3 separate regions of the Homo sapiens genome follow, and regions 1 and 3 are each linked to region 2. Evidence: promoter capture Hi-C in 16 types of primary human blood cells and fetal thymus (Javierre and others, 2016). All regions are on one chromosome and are shown on one strand. The core of a region is centred on a gene start or on the middle of the fragment in contact, and the rest is flanking DNA. Distances in the headings are between cores, read along the strand shown. Region 1 holds the start of NR1I2 (nuclear receptor subfamily 1 group I member 2). Region 2 holds the start of CD80 (CD80 molecule). Region 3 overlaps CFAP91 (cilia and flagella associated protein 91).

Evidence for each region. Contacts are between HindIII fragments. The CHiCAGO score rates a contact against its expected background, and 5 or more counts as called.
Region 1: a contact is called between the fragment with the promoter of NR1I2 here and the fragment with the promoter of CD80 in region 2, in 11 of 17 cell types (neutrophils, erythroblasts, M2 macrophages and 8 more). The highest score is 13.0, in neutrophils.
Region 3: a fragment that was not itself captured here is called in contact with the fragment with the promoter of CD80 in region 2 in 1 of 17 cell types (monocytes); the score reaches 6.4 in monocytes.

The regions. Positions count from the first base shown.
Region 1 is chr3:119,780,342-119,783,401 of GRCh38, reverse strand. NR1I2 (nuclear receptor subfamily 1 group I member 2) reads right to left here and starts at 1,301. Exons shown (of 9, transcript NM_003889.4): 1 at 1,102-1,301. The HindIII fragment of the contact is 6,406 bases long and covers 101-3,060 here.
Region 2 is chr3:119,557,337-119,560,908 of GRCh38, reverse strand. It overlaps CD80 (CD80 molecule), which reads left to right and starts at 1,295. Exons shown (of 7, transcript NM_005191.4): 1 at 1,295-1,469; 2 at 2,981-3,280. The coding sequence starts at 3,181. LOC107986118 (a long non-coding RNA gene) reads right to left here and starts at 479. Exons shown (of 2, transcript XR_001740861.2): 1 at 164-479. RefSeq lists enhancers at 1,022-1,071, 1,842-1,901, 2,172-2,331, 2,693-2,987 and a silencer at 2,693-2,987. The HindIII fragment of the contact is 26,007 bases long and covers 389-3,572 here.
Region 3 is chr3:119,704,998-119,708,558 of GRCh38, reverse strand. It overlaps CFAP91 (cilia and flagella associated protein 91), which reads right to left. Exons shown (of 18, transcript NM_033364.4): 2 at 1,674-1,750; 3 at 998-1,155. Among named protein-coding and RNA genes, the nearest start is that of CFAP91, 3.8 kb to the right of the region's middle. The HindIII fragment of the contact is 4,731 bases long and covers 1-3,561 here.

The DNA.
Region 1 (3,060 bases), core at 52-2,551, 220 kb before region 2:
TGGCCTCTAATGATATGGCCAGAGTTGAAAGGATGTTGTAGGGCAAAAACAGCCATATACAATACATAACGAATGGGCATGGCTGTGTTCCAATAAAGCTTCATTTATAAAAACAGCTGGTGGGCCAGAGTTAGCCTGTGAGCCATAGTTTGTCAACCCCAGGTTTAGACTTTTATGACATAACTAAAATATTTTTAAAGCGTATTTGTGTACCACAAAATACTTTTTCCCATTAACCAACTGATTAAATAAGCCTCTGAGGCCTCCCTTAGCATCCTTTCAACTCTGACCATATCATTAGAGGCCATGTGGGAGAGGAATAGTGCCTGCTATAGCTGATTCATTGAGTCAAGACTCAGTGGCCTCAGAGGTGTCTGTTGACCTGTCCTAGATATGGAGTGGCCTTAAAGCAGTGCCTCTGGCCATAGCTTCAGCCGAGCTGGGCTGTAAAGTGGAGAGAAGAAGGACCTGGTGGCACTGACCACATGCAGGCAAGACTCGGTTCTGTGGGACAAGGTGCCCTTTCAATAGTAGAGGTAGAAAACTCACTGGTTTGAAGCCAACTCAGCCGCAGCACTGTGCAGGGGTATGGCAGGTGCTCTGAGGGACCCCTCCTTGAAGTGGTGAGTCCTGGTGACTGTCATGCTGCTGTCCTTGGCCTCAGGGGGCTGCCAGCACTAACCCAGCAGGCCAAAAGGAATCAGGACTGAGTTGATCCCAGTTCCCATAGTCCCCAGCTCCCACAGTCCTTGGAGGTGGTATTTCCTGGGTCCAGGGACTCCAGCCCTGTAACAGGGAGCTGGTTGTATGTGTGACTTGTGGTAACTCATGCAGTAGTTAAGGCTTCTCCTGTGGTGATTTTTCTAGGAGGCTAGTGCAGGACCAGAGAGCATCAGTAATGGGGCTCAACATTAAGTGATTGTTTTCATGCTTTTTTTTTTCCACCCTAGAAATGAGGAGACAGCAGCAAGGCCAACATGATTCACGACCCACTATGATGCTGACCTCAAACAGAAGGTATATTTGTGTTCACACACATCTTTTGGCTGGAGCTGAAGGGCGGTCAGCCCCCAGCAAAAGAGAAAGAAAGAAAAACCATACCTGCTTGGTGGTAAGTTCTTTGCTCCGACTTCTCCCCTGGGGTCCACTTTGAACAATCCGGTGCAAAGGATCGATCAAGGAGTAGCTTTACCAAGGAGCCGCTGCCTTGTTCAGGACAGGAGTATTAGCTTATTCTCTTGCTTTTCTCACTGTGAACACTTGGCTTGCAGGCTGAGGCCGAGATTCCCACTGAAGTAAAGGCAGTGCTTCCTCTTCCCGTCCTAGTCATAGGTTATGATTTCCCCGGATATGAGACAATCTTGTCTCTCACCTATATTTCAGTCCAAGTCAGATGTAGGCACTAAGCGGCTCCATTGCCCCTCCTAAGTCCCAAGTCCAGCACTTGAACTAGCAAATGAAGAGATTACCGTATTTGTTCTCATTATGTTCTCCCTACTTTTTTCTTTCAGGTCTCTTCACTACAAAAACACAGGAAAAGGGGAAGAGAGTGGCAAATATCCGCTTTGTCTAAGTAATTCTGAGTGCATTTCATCAGTCTGAGGGTCTCTGTCCTTTACCACTAGGGGCAACATTAATTTGAACCTAGATCTCCTTATACTTCCTCCTTTGTTGAAACCACCTCCCTGGATAGTGTTACTTGATGTGAAAGTGAGCAAAGTATTGATTTATGACGGTGCCAATCACCAGCATGGTTATGTAAGAGGGGGGCAGGCACACAGGGAGAGGGAAAGGGTGTGAGATGAGGGGGCTGAGCACAGTTCTCGAGAATGTGACCCCACCACTTTGATCTCAGAACAGAAGGCTGACCAGGAGTGGGGAGGATGGACCAGCTGAGGGCTCTTTCCTCTCCCGGGTCCTGCCAGAGGGGAGCTGAAGAGTCCTCACTCTTCAGCCTCAACCTTCTTATTCCCTAGCAGCAGGTGCTCCCAAGTGAACAGAATCAACAAAAGCCGAATGTGGTGGATACCAGGATGTGTTTCTTCTACTTGCTTTGTTTATAAAGATGCTTTATGGCAGGTGAGGGGAGTGGAAGTAACTGCTCCTACCTAAAAGGCAAACAAGTACAAGCCTCTGGCAACAGTAAAGCAGGGGCATGGGCCCCAACAAGAGAGGGAGAGGGAGACCACGATTGAGCAAACAGGTAGAAAAGAGAACCTGGGATTGCCAAAAAATGACCACAGTTGTCTTCAGGTGAACATTTGGACTTCCTTACATTTATTTATTGACTTAAGTTGTTATTATTTTGAAGTACATGCTTTAATCCAGCCCTGGTGAGAAAAGCCAGAATATCTAAGTATGATTTGTTTGTTTTGTTTTTAATTGGTTTCTTCTCTATCCAATTTGCACTTCCCAAGGGATGAGAAAGACTTGAGGCTGGGATTTCCTAGGGGTTGACATTTCTCAAGTGGATGCTTGCCTTGCTGTTTTCAACCAAGCGCAGAATGTAAGGTGCTTACACAGCTCACTGCTGGGGACTTACTGCCAGCAGTGGGGACTGGGACCCACAGCCATAGAGCTCTGTCCTTTTTCCAGTCACATTTCTGATTATCCACATGGGATTCTGCTAGGGCTAGGAGGTATTGGATTACAAATCCCACTGGACAGAAAGTTGACTTGGGCCTTAGGCAGGGAGGACCTAGAGTAAGTGAAATATTGAATGTCATGAGGATATTGGAAAGAAAAAGAGTAAGTGAAATACTGGATTTCAGTACCAGTGGAAGTAGCCTGAACAGTGTGCTCTGGGGTAGGAGGACAGCATGGGGCTATATCTGGGGCCTGCAGGTCCCCTGAGAAACACAGATCAGAAGGCCATGGCTAAAGCCAAAGAGGGTGGGAAAGCTGGAAAGGGTTAAGAACTCACCCCAGGAAACTTATTTCCAAGATCAAAAGTAGGCCTTTCTGCACTGACAGGTATCTCCAAGTCCAGGGAAAAAAGGCATGACTCCAGCTCAGGTAGGCCACCTTGCCAGAAGTCCTTAGGTTATGGGTAACATACGT
Region 2 (3,572 bases), core at 46-2,545:
CTCTTTTAAGTTGACATCTATAACTTTCTATTACTTTAAATACCTGGAAAAAAAATCACTTCCAGTGCATTGTAATAATGTATCAAGTAGAAGTGGCTAAAATCAGTGAAAACATTTCTTTGATCTGAATAAATGTTCAAGAAAATAGAAAACATGAACTTACCTCCAATCTATGTTCCCTTTACTTGAAAATGTAATGTTGATCTACTAGAGGTAAGGCAGGAATTGTCACATCCATATTCCTTGCAACTATTCAAAATATGCATCTGAGACCAGAACAAGACACAGGTGAAGAAGGGTGCTCACTAGGCCCCTTCTGCCAATACAGAAGGAGACAGTGCAGTGGAGTCCTTTCATAGCAAGTTCTGCCTTCATGATTTCCAAAGCTTCAGTATTCCAAATCTCAGGTGAATAGGGTGGTATCCACTAAGCTCTGCCACAAACTTGTTGCTGAGATGAAGGAAGCCGCCGCTGTAGTCAGTATTTCTCACCCACACGGTTTGCTCTCTTTCTGGCTGGTGTGGGAAGGATGGCGTCTTTTTTTTTTTTTTTTTTTTGAGATGGAGTCTTGCTCTGTTACCCAAGCTGGATTGTAGTGTTGTGATCTCGGCTCACTGCAACCCATGCAAGGTGCTGTCAGGTTCCACCTGTGCAAACAAGTACACTGGTCCAGCATGGGTCAGCTGCTCACTCACAGGGGCTCCAGAATCCTACAAAGGGACACACAGGGGTGGGTGGCAACCTAGTTGGAAATGGGAGTGATGGGCATGACTAAAGTCTTCCTCATCCCACCAGAGGCGCACTCAACTGTGGCTAGGGTGACCAGAATTCACTGTCCAGCGTGGCTGGCAGGAGCCCACTCTCTGAAGATGGTGGGATTCAGAGGTGGGAGTAGAGTTGGGTGGTCCTGTGAGCTGAGCACTCTCCCAAAAGTGTCCCCTACATATGAGGTTGACAGCTTATTCCTGCAGGGACTCAGGAGTAACTCTGGGTGCTAAAACAAAACTTGAGACCAGCACAGAAACAGCCAGCCCATGAAGCTGGCCTCCCATCACACAGCAAGGCTAGCCAGATGCCCCTCACTCTTCTCGGGCACCATTCTTCTCCTCCCCTAGGCCGCCTGGTGCTCGTGGTGTTTCATGTTTGTTAGTCCATGCACGGTGGTGAGGGAGGCTGCTGTGTGATTTGCCCCAGCCACAGCCTCTACAAAAGCAACTAGAAGAAGACGGCAGCAGAGGGCGCTTCTTCAAACACCCTGTCCAACTCCTGGCACTGACAAGTACTGAGTGAACTCAAACCCTCTGTAAAGTAACAGAAGTTAGAAGGGGAAATGTCGCCTCTCTGAAGATTACCCAAAGAAAAAGTGATTTGTCATTGCTTTATAGACTGTAAGAAGAGAACATCTCAGAAGTGGAGTCTTACCCTGAAATCAAAGGATTTAAAGAAAAAGTGGAATTTTTCTTCAGCAAGTAAGTACATTTACTATTATCTTACTATGGGATAGCTTGGTAGAACTAGTTACCAGCAACCTCACTGCTTTTTAAACAAACAATACCTCTGCTACCACCTCCTGGATCCAGGCTTGCCCTCAAAGGAACCCTTAGGGTCTCATTCCCACAGGAGGCTGTGGCTTCCCGACATATTTGGAGCATCATAGTGAGAATTGTGGCCCATTATTTTAAAATATCCTAGATCCTAGCAAATATTGTTTTTGTGGGCCGTATTTGAATTTCTCAAGCCAGTAAAATTCTAGTGAAAGTGGGAAAATCGCTTGAGCTCGGGAGGTTGAGACTGTGGTGAGCTATGGTCACGCCACTGCACTCTAGCCTGTGTGACAGAGCAAGATTCTATCTTAAGAAAAACAAATTCTGGTGAATAAGTCTCTTTTAACTAATCCTGTCTAAAATGGATGATGGCTAATAAAACAATATGGCGTGGCTGGAACTCTAGCTCTAGGGTGGTCTCCAAAGAGGACACTCAAGCATTCTCTGAGCAGCACGGGGCTGTGTCCTGGTAGCAGCCTGAAGGGGTGACAGTGGAGCACAGTGTTTATTTTCATTTCTCAATTTTGACATATTTACTGGAAAAATTAATCCCTAGCCACCTCACATGACAGTACATAATTTTTTTTTTTTTTTTTTTTGAGATGGAGTCTCACTCTGTCGCCTAGGCTGGAGTGCAGTGTTGCAATCATCTTGGCTCACTGCAGCCTCCACCTCCTGGATTCAAGCAATTCTCGTGCCTCAGCCTCCCAAGTGGCTGGGATTACAGGCACCCACCACCACACCTGGCTAATTTTTGTATTTTTGGTAGAAATGGGGTTTTGCCATGTTGGCCAGGCTGGTCTGGAACTCCTGGCCTCAAGTAATCCGCCCACCTCAGCCTCCCAAAGTGCTGGGATTACAGGCGTGAGCCACCACGCCTGGCCCTGGAGTACATAATTTTGATAAGTAACGTCTGCAGTGTCTTTTTTTCCCTCCCTTTTTATGGATAGACTTTTCTGGTTATTGAGATCTCATACCCCTTTATGATATATTATTTGAGTAGAGGGTTTAAAGAATTGAGATACTTGTTTTCTTATGTTAATATGTCAAGAAAGAAGTTGTTTCATAACTTAGGTCCTGCCTTGGACAAAATACACCCTTACTGTCTGCTCTATGTTTCTTGGTATGTTCAGAAGAGGATTTGAACTTTTGCAGGTTGGCTAACAGATATGGAGGGTCCTTAGAGCTCTCCTGTTTCTAACCAAATCTTCACCCCACCTATTAAGTAGAAAGCCTTTTCATGGAAGGGCTGTGGTTGGTTCTTGGAACTGGTCCCCTCACAGAATTTCCATTCGCTTTTCCTCAGGGTCACGCCCTGCTTTAGAGGTTGCTTAGGTTAAGCTCTCCAATTAATTTTAGCAGGCAACTCGAGAGTTTTGCAACTCAAAGTAGGCACACCTTCCTTCCTGAATGACTTTTATTTGTTCCTTTTTCAGGCTGTGAAACTAAATCCACAACCTTTGGAGACCCAGGAACACCCTCCAATCTCTGTGTGTTTTGTAAACATCACTGGAGGGTCTTCTACGTGAGCAATTGGATTGTCATCAGCCCTGCCTGTTTTGCACCTGGGAAGTGCCCTGGTCTTACTTGGGTCCAAATTGTTGGCTTTCACTTTTGACCCTAAGCATCTGAAGCCATGGGCCACACACGGAGGCAGGGAACATCACCATCCAAGTGTCCATACCTCAATTTCTTTCAGCTCTTGGTGCTGGCTGGTCTTTCTCACTTCTGTTCAGGTAAGCAACTTTCAGGAACTTAACTGAGTCAACTGCTACAGGGTTAAGAGAAAGGACATGGGGTTCTCTGAGCTGCTCCCTTCTATTATCCTATAAGCTGGAAGGAACCTTCAGGGTGTTTTCAGAAGATTTTAAAGATTAGAAGACTGTGGTCCAAAGAGGTTAAAGGACCTGCCTATCATCACACAGCAAGTTAGCAACCAAGTTAACTCAAGAACCCAGGCCTTCAAGGAAGCGTGGAAGGGACAGTGTTATTTTAACAAAACCATACAGCCGATTCATAATGGTCTCT
Region 3 (3,561 bases), core at 406-2,905, 150 kb before region 2:
TAAAATATTTCCACATATAATTTCTATTTAATATTTCTATGTGTATAGAGTAGGACCTACACAGAGTATCTCATACTGAGAGTAAAGTCTTCCATAACCTGCATTTGACTGCCATACAACTTAGAGTATATATGATTCTTCCCCTGAGCCAGGAGACCAGAACCTAGTCAGACAGAGCAAGAGCTGAGAAAAGAGTGGATTTATGAAATCCCACATACAAAAATGCCCAATTTTAATTAAAAGCACACAAGAATAGCAAAATATTAAAAGACAATTTTTTTTTTTTTTTTTTTTGAGACAGAGTCTCGCTCTGTCACCCAGGCTGGAGTGCAGTGGTGCAATCTCCACCTCCTGGGTTCATGCCATTCTCCTGCCTCAGCCTCCCAAGTAGCTGGGACTACAGGCACCTGCCACCACACCCGGCTAACTTTTTGTATTTTTAGTAGAGACGGGGTTTCACCGTGTTAGCCAGGATGGTCTCAATCTCCTGACCTCATGATCCGCCTGCCTCGGCCTCCCAAAGTGCTGGGATTACAGGCGTGAGCCACTGTGCCTGGCCAAAAGACACTTTTTCTATGTCCAGGTTAAAAGGCTTTATAATTTTTAATTTACTAAATGTGAACTTGTAAGTAATTAAAAGAATAAAGAATTCGACTTATTCTTGAAGGTGCTTTGGCCCCAAGTTCCCAAAAAATATTTTAGATACTAGCAGAACAGAGCACTTTCAGTTGCTAAGTTGGATCCAAGCAACAACAAACTCAATCATCCCTACCTTTGGTGGCAAGTTGTCATTATATATATGACAAAATTATATATATATATATATCTCATATATACAATATATAATCAGGTTTGTTTGGTCAAAAGAGGTTTAGAAAGAAAATTTGGCCTAGGTATAACACCACAACTGAACATTTTAAAACCACACATGGTAAATGAATTTAAAGAAATGCTTTTAATGCATTTATTTTAGGCCCTGGAGCCACCCGACACTTACGTGGTGAGCTGCCGGAGGGCTTCTCTGTGTTTCTCCTTATGTCCCTTCCATTCCCGACTGATAAATGGTGGGACAGGATCTGACTTGCTCCAATATAGAGAATATCTTGGATAATGGATCAGGTTACTGAACATGGTTTTAAACCTGGGAACTTTTCTCTAATGTTAGAGAAGGGAGGCAAAGGACAAAATTATACCATCAGCTTTTCTAAAGCATTTTAATTACATTGTAAACTCTTTTTAAAAACATACAAAACAATGTATACAGCATAAGAAGAGGGGTTATTGCTGTATGCGTAAAATATCTTTAAATACATGCCCAAGAAACTGATGACAATGGCTGTTTATGTGGAGGGGGTAGGGGATAGGGCTAGAATTTACTTCACACTGTATATGCTTTTATACTACTTGAATTCTTTTAACATGGGCATATATTATTAAATTTATCCCATTGAAATAAATTAGCTTATGGGTTCTCTGTTCATTATTGGTGACTTAATCCTCACAATGAGCCACACGTATTAAGATGCTTTGCCCTCCAGTAATCTTGGCAAGGTAATTTCTGTGGAACCTAAAATCCAGTGAAGATTTGGTGATTAGTCAATCTGATCAATGCAGTCAGGCAAACTAGATGGTTCAGGTTCATCAGGTAGCCTTGGCTGATGAATTAGACATACCAGTCTGCTGCGAATCAGGGTAGCTTGGATATTTGCCTGTGTATGGTCTTTCTCACTTGACACAATAAACAATGGATCTGCAAAATAAACAATCAAGTAGCATAACAGATAGAACATATCTACCCCTAGGCTGAGAATAATGGCAAAGTAATGTAATCTCTTAATTGGAAAACAAATTTAAAAGTTTAAATATTGTCTGACTCTGCAGCAGCTCATGCTCTGTTGTGCATGTGGCCCTGTTACTCTACCACTTCTACCAGCAACAGTTGTCAAGATGTTTTTCTTTTCTGAGTATTCCAAGTCAGCTTACGGAAGTGGAATTCATAAAGAAAGTCTAGCATGTTTTCAAGTACTACACCCTGAACACACTTTCTTCTCTCCTATGAACAAAACTCCTTTTGAGCCTGGGTAACCCAAAAAATTCTTCAAGGGAAAGACCTTGTATATACGCACTATGCCAATTTGCAAGTGAAAGAAGCAATACATTTATACCATCTCCCATATTTGGTGCACTAGAAAGATGCAAACCACATGATATCTCAGAATTGGTGAACACGGTTAAAAAAAAAATCAGCTATCTTCAGAATTCACCCCTTAAGTTTGTAAGTTTGCTGATGATGGAACTGTTATTTTTACAAAGTTCAACAAAATATTGCCCTGCTATTATAAGTATCTGTTTATCAGGTATATCTTTAAAGTGATGAAGAATATTCATGATTGACTATACTGTACCACCCTTTAAAATCAACTGATTTGCCATTAAATTAACAAGCAGCCTTTGGATACACTTGATTTCCCAAGTAGACTTGTCTCTGGGGAGGCAAATACCCTGACCAGCTAGTCTAGATAACATGGTAACACATATTTCTCCATAGAAATTAATAATTTGGGAATTGTGATTTAGAAACAAGTCTCTTTTGAATTTGGATAATGTGTGTCAATTCCTAAAACCTAATAATTCATTAGTAACCCAACAAATACGATTTACTGAATGCAGACATTGGATATTCCCACCAAGGCTGAAAAGCTGCAAGAGGCTCAGGCTCTTTTTGCTCCTTCATTCAACACATGTTTATTGACTGGCTACTCTATCTAGGTGCTTAGAATACATCAACAAAACGACAAAAATCTTTGACTTCATGAGAGAGAGACAACAAACAACAAACATAATAAACTAGCAAATTACACATTAGAATTTGAGGGTTGTTATTTTTAAAAAAGAAGAAATCGGGTAAGGAAGATTGGGTTGCAATTTTAACTAGGGTGGTCGGGGCAGGCCCTTGAGAAGGTGGCATGTAAGGAGACTTGAAGGTGAGGGAGTTAGCTAGTTAGATATCTGAAGAACATTCTAGGATGGGAGCATGCCTGATACATCTGAAGAACAGCAAAGTCCCTAGGATGGGAACATGCCTGATACGTCTGAAGAATAGCAAAGAAACCAGGACAAATGAGGCAGAATGAAGGAGGGGAAAGAGAGTAGATAAGAGGCCAGAGAAGTAACTAGGGAACTAATCACATAGGGCTTCATAAGGAAGGGTAAAAGAACCTGGAAAGGTGTTCATCTTTGCACCACCACAGTTCTGTCAAGGTGGAAACCTGGCCCAAGGCCAGTCAATTCATTGGCCAGCCAACAACCAATCTTAAATTTCTAACTTAAATTTTCAGCTACAATACACAAAGACGCTATACAATTGGTGGTGAGCTTTAGGGCTAATTAGTCAAGAAGCACGCCACCCTAGTCCCTATCATAGTAAGAGAAATCCATACACAAGAGGCTTTCTGTCAGATGGAAGGAAGCAAGCATAGAGATGTGTTGCTTAATGATGGGGATACGTTCTTAGAAACGGGTTATGAGGTGAGCTTATCGTTGTGTAAATATCAGAGGGTA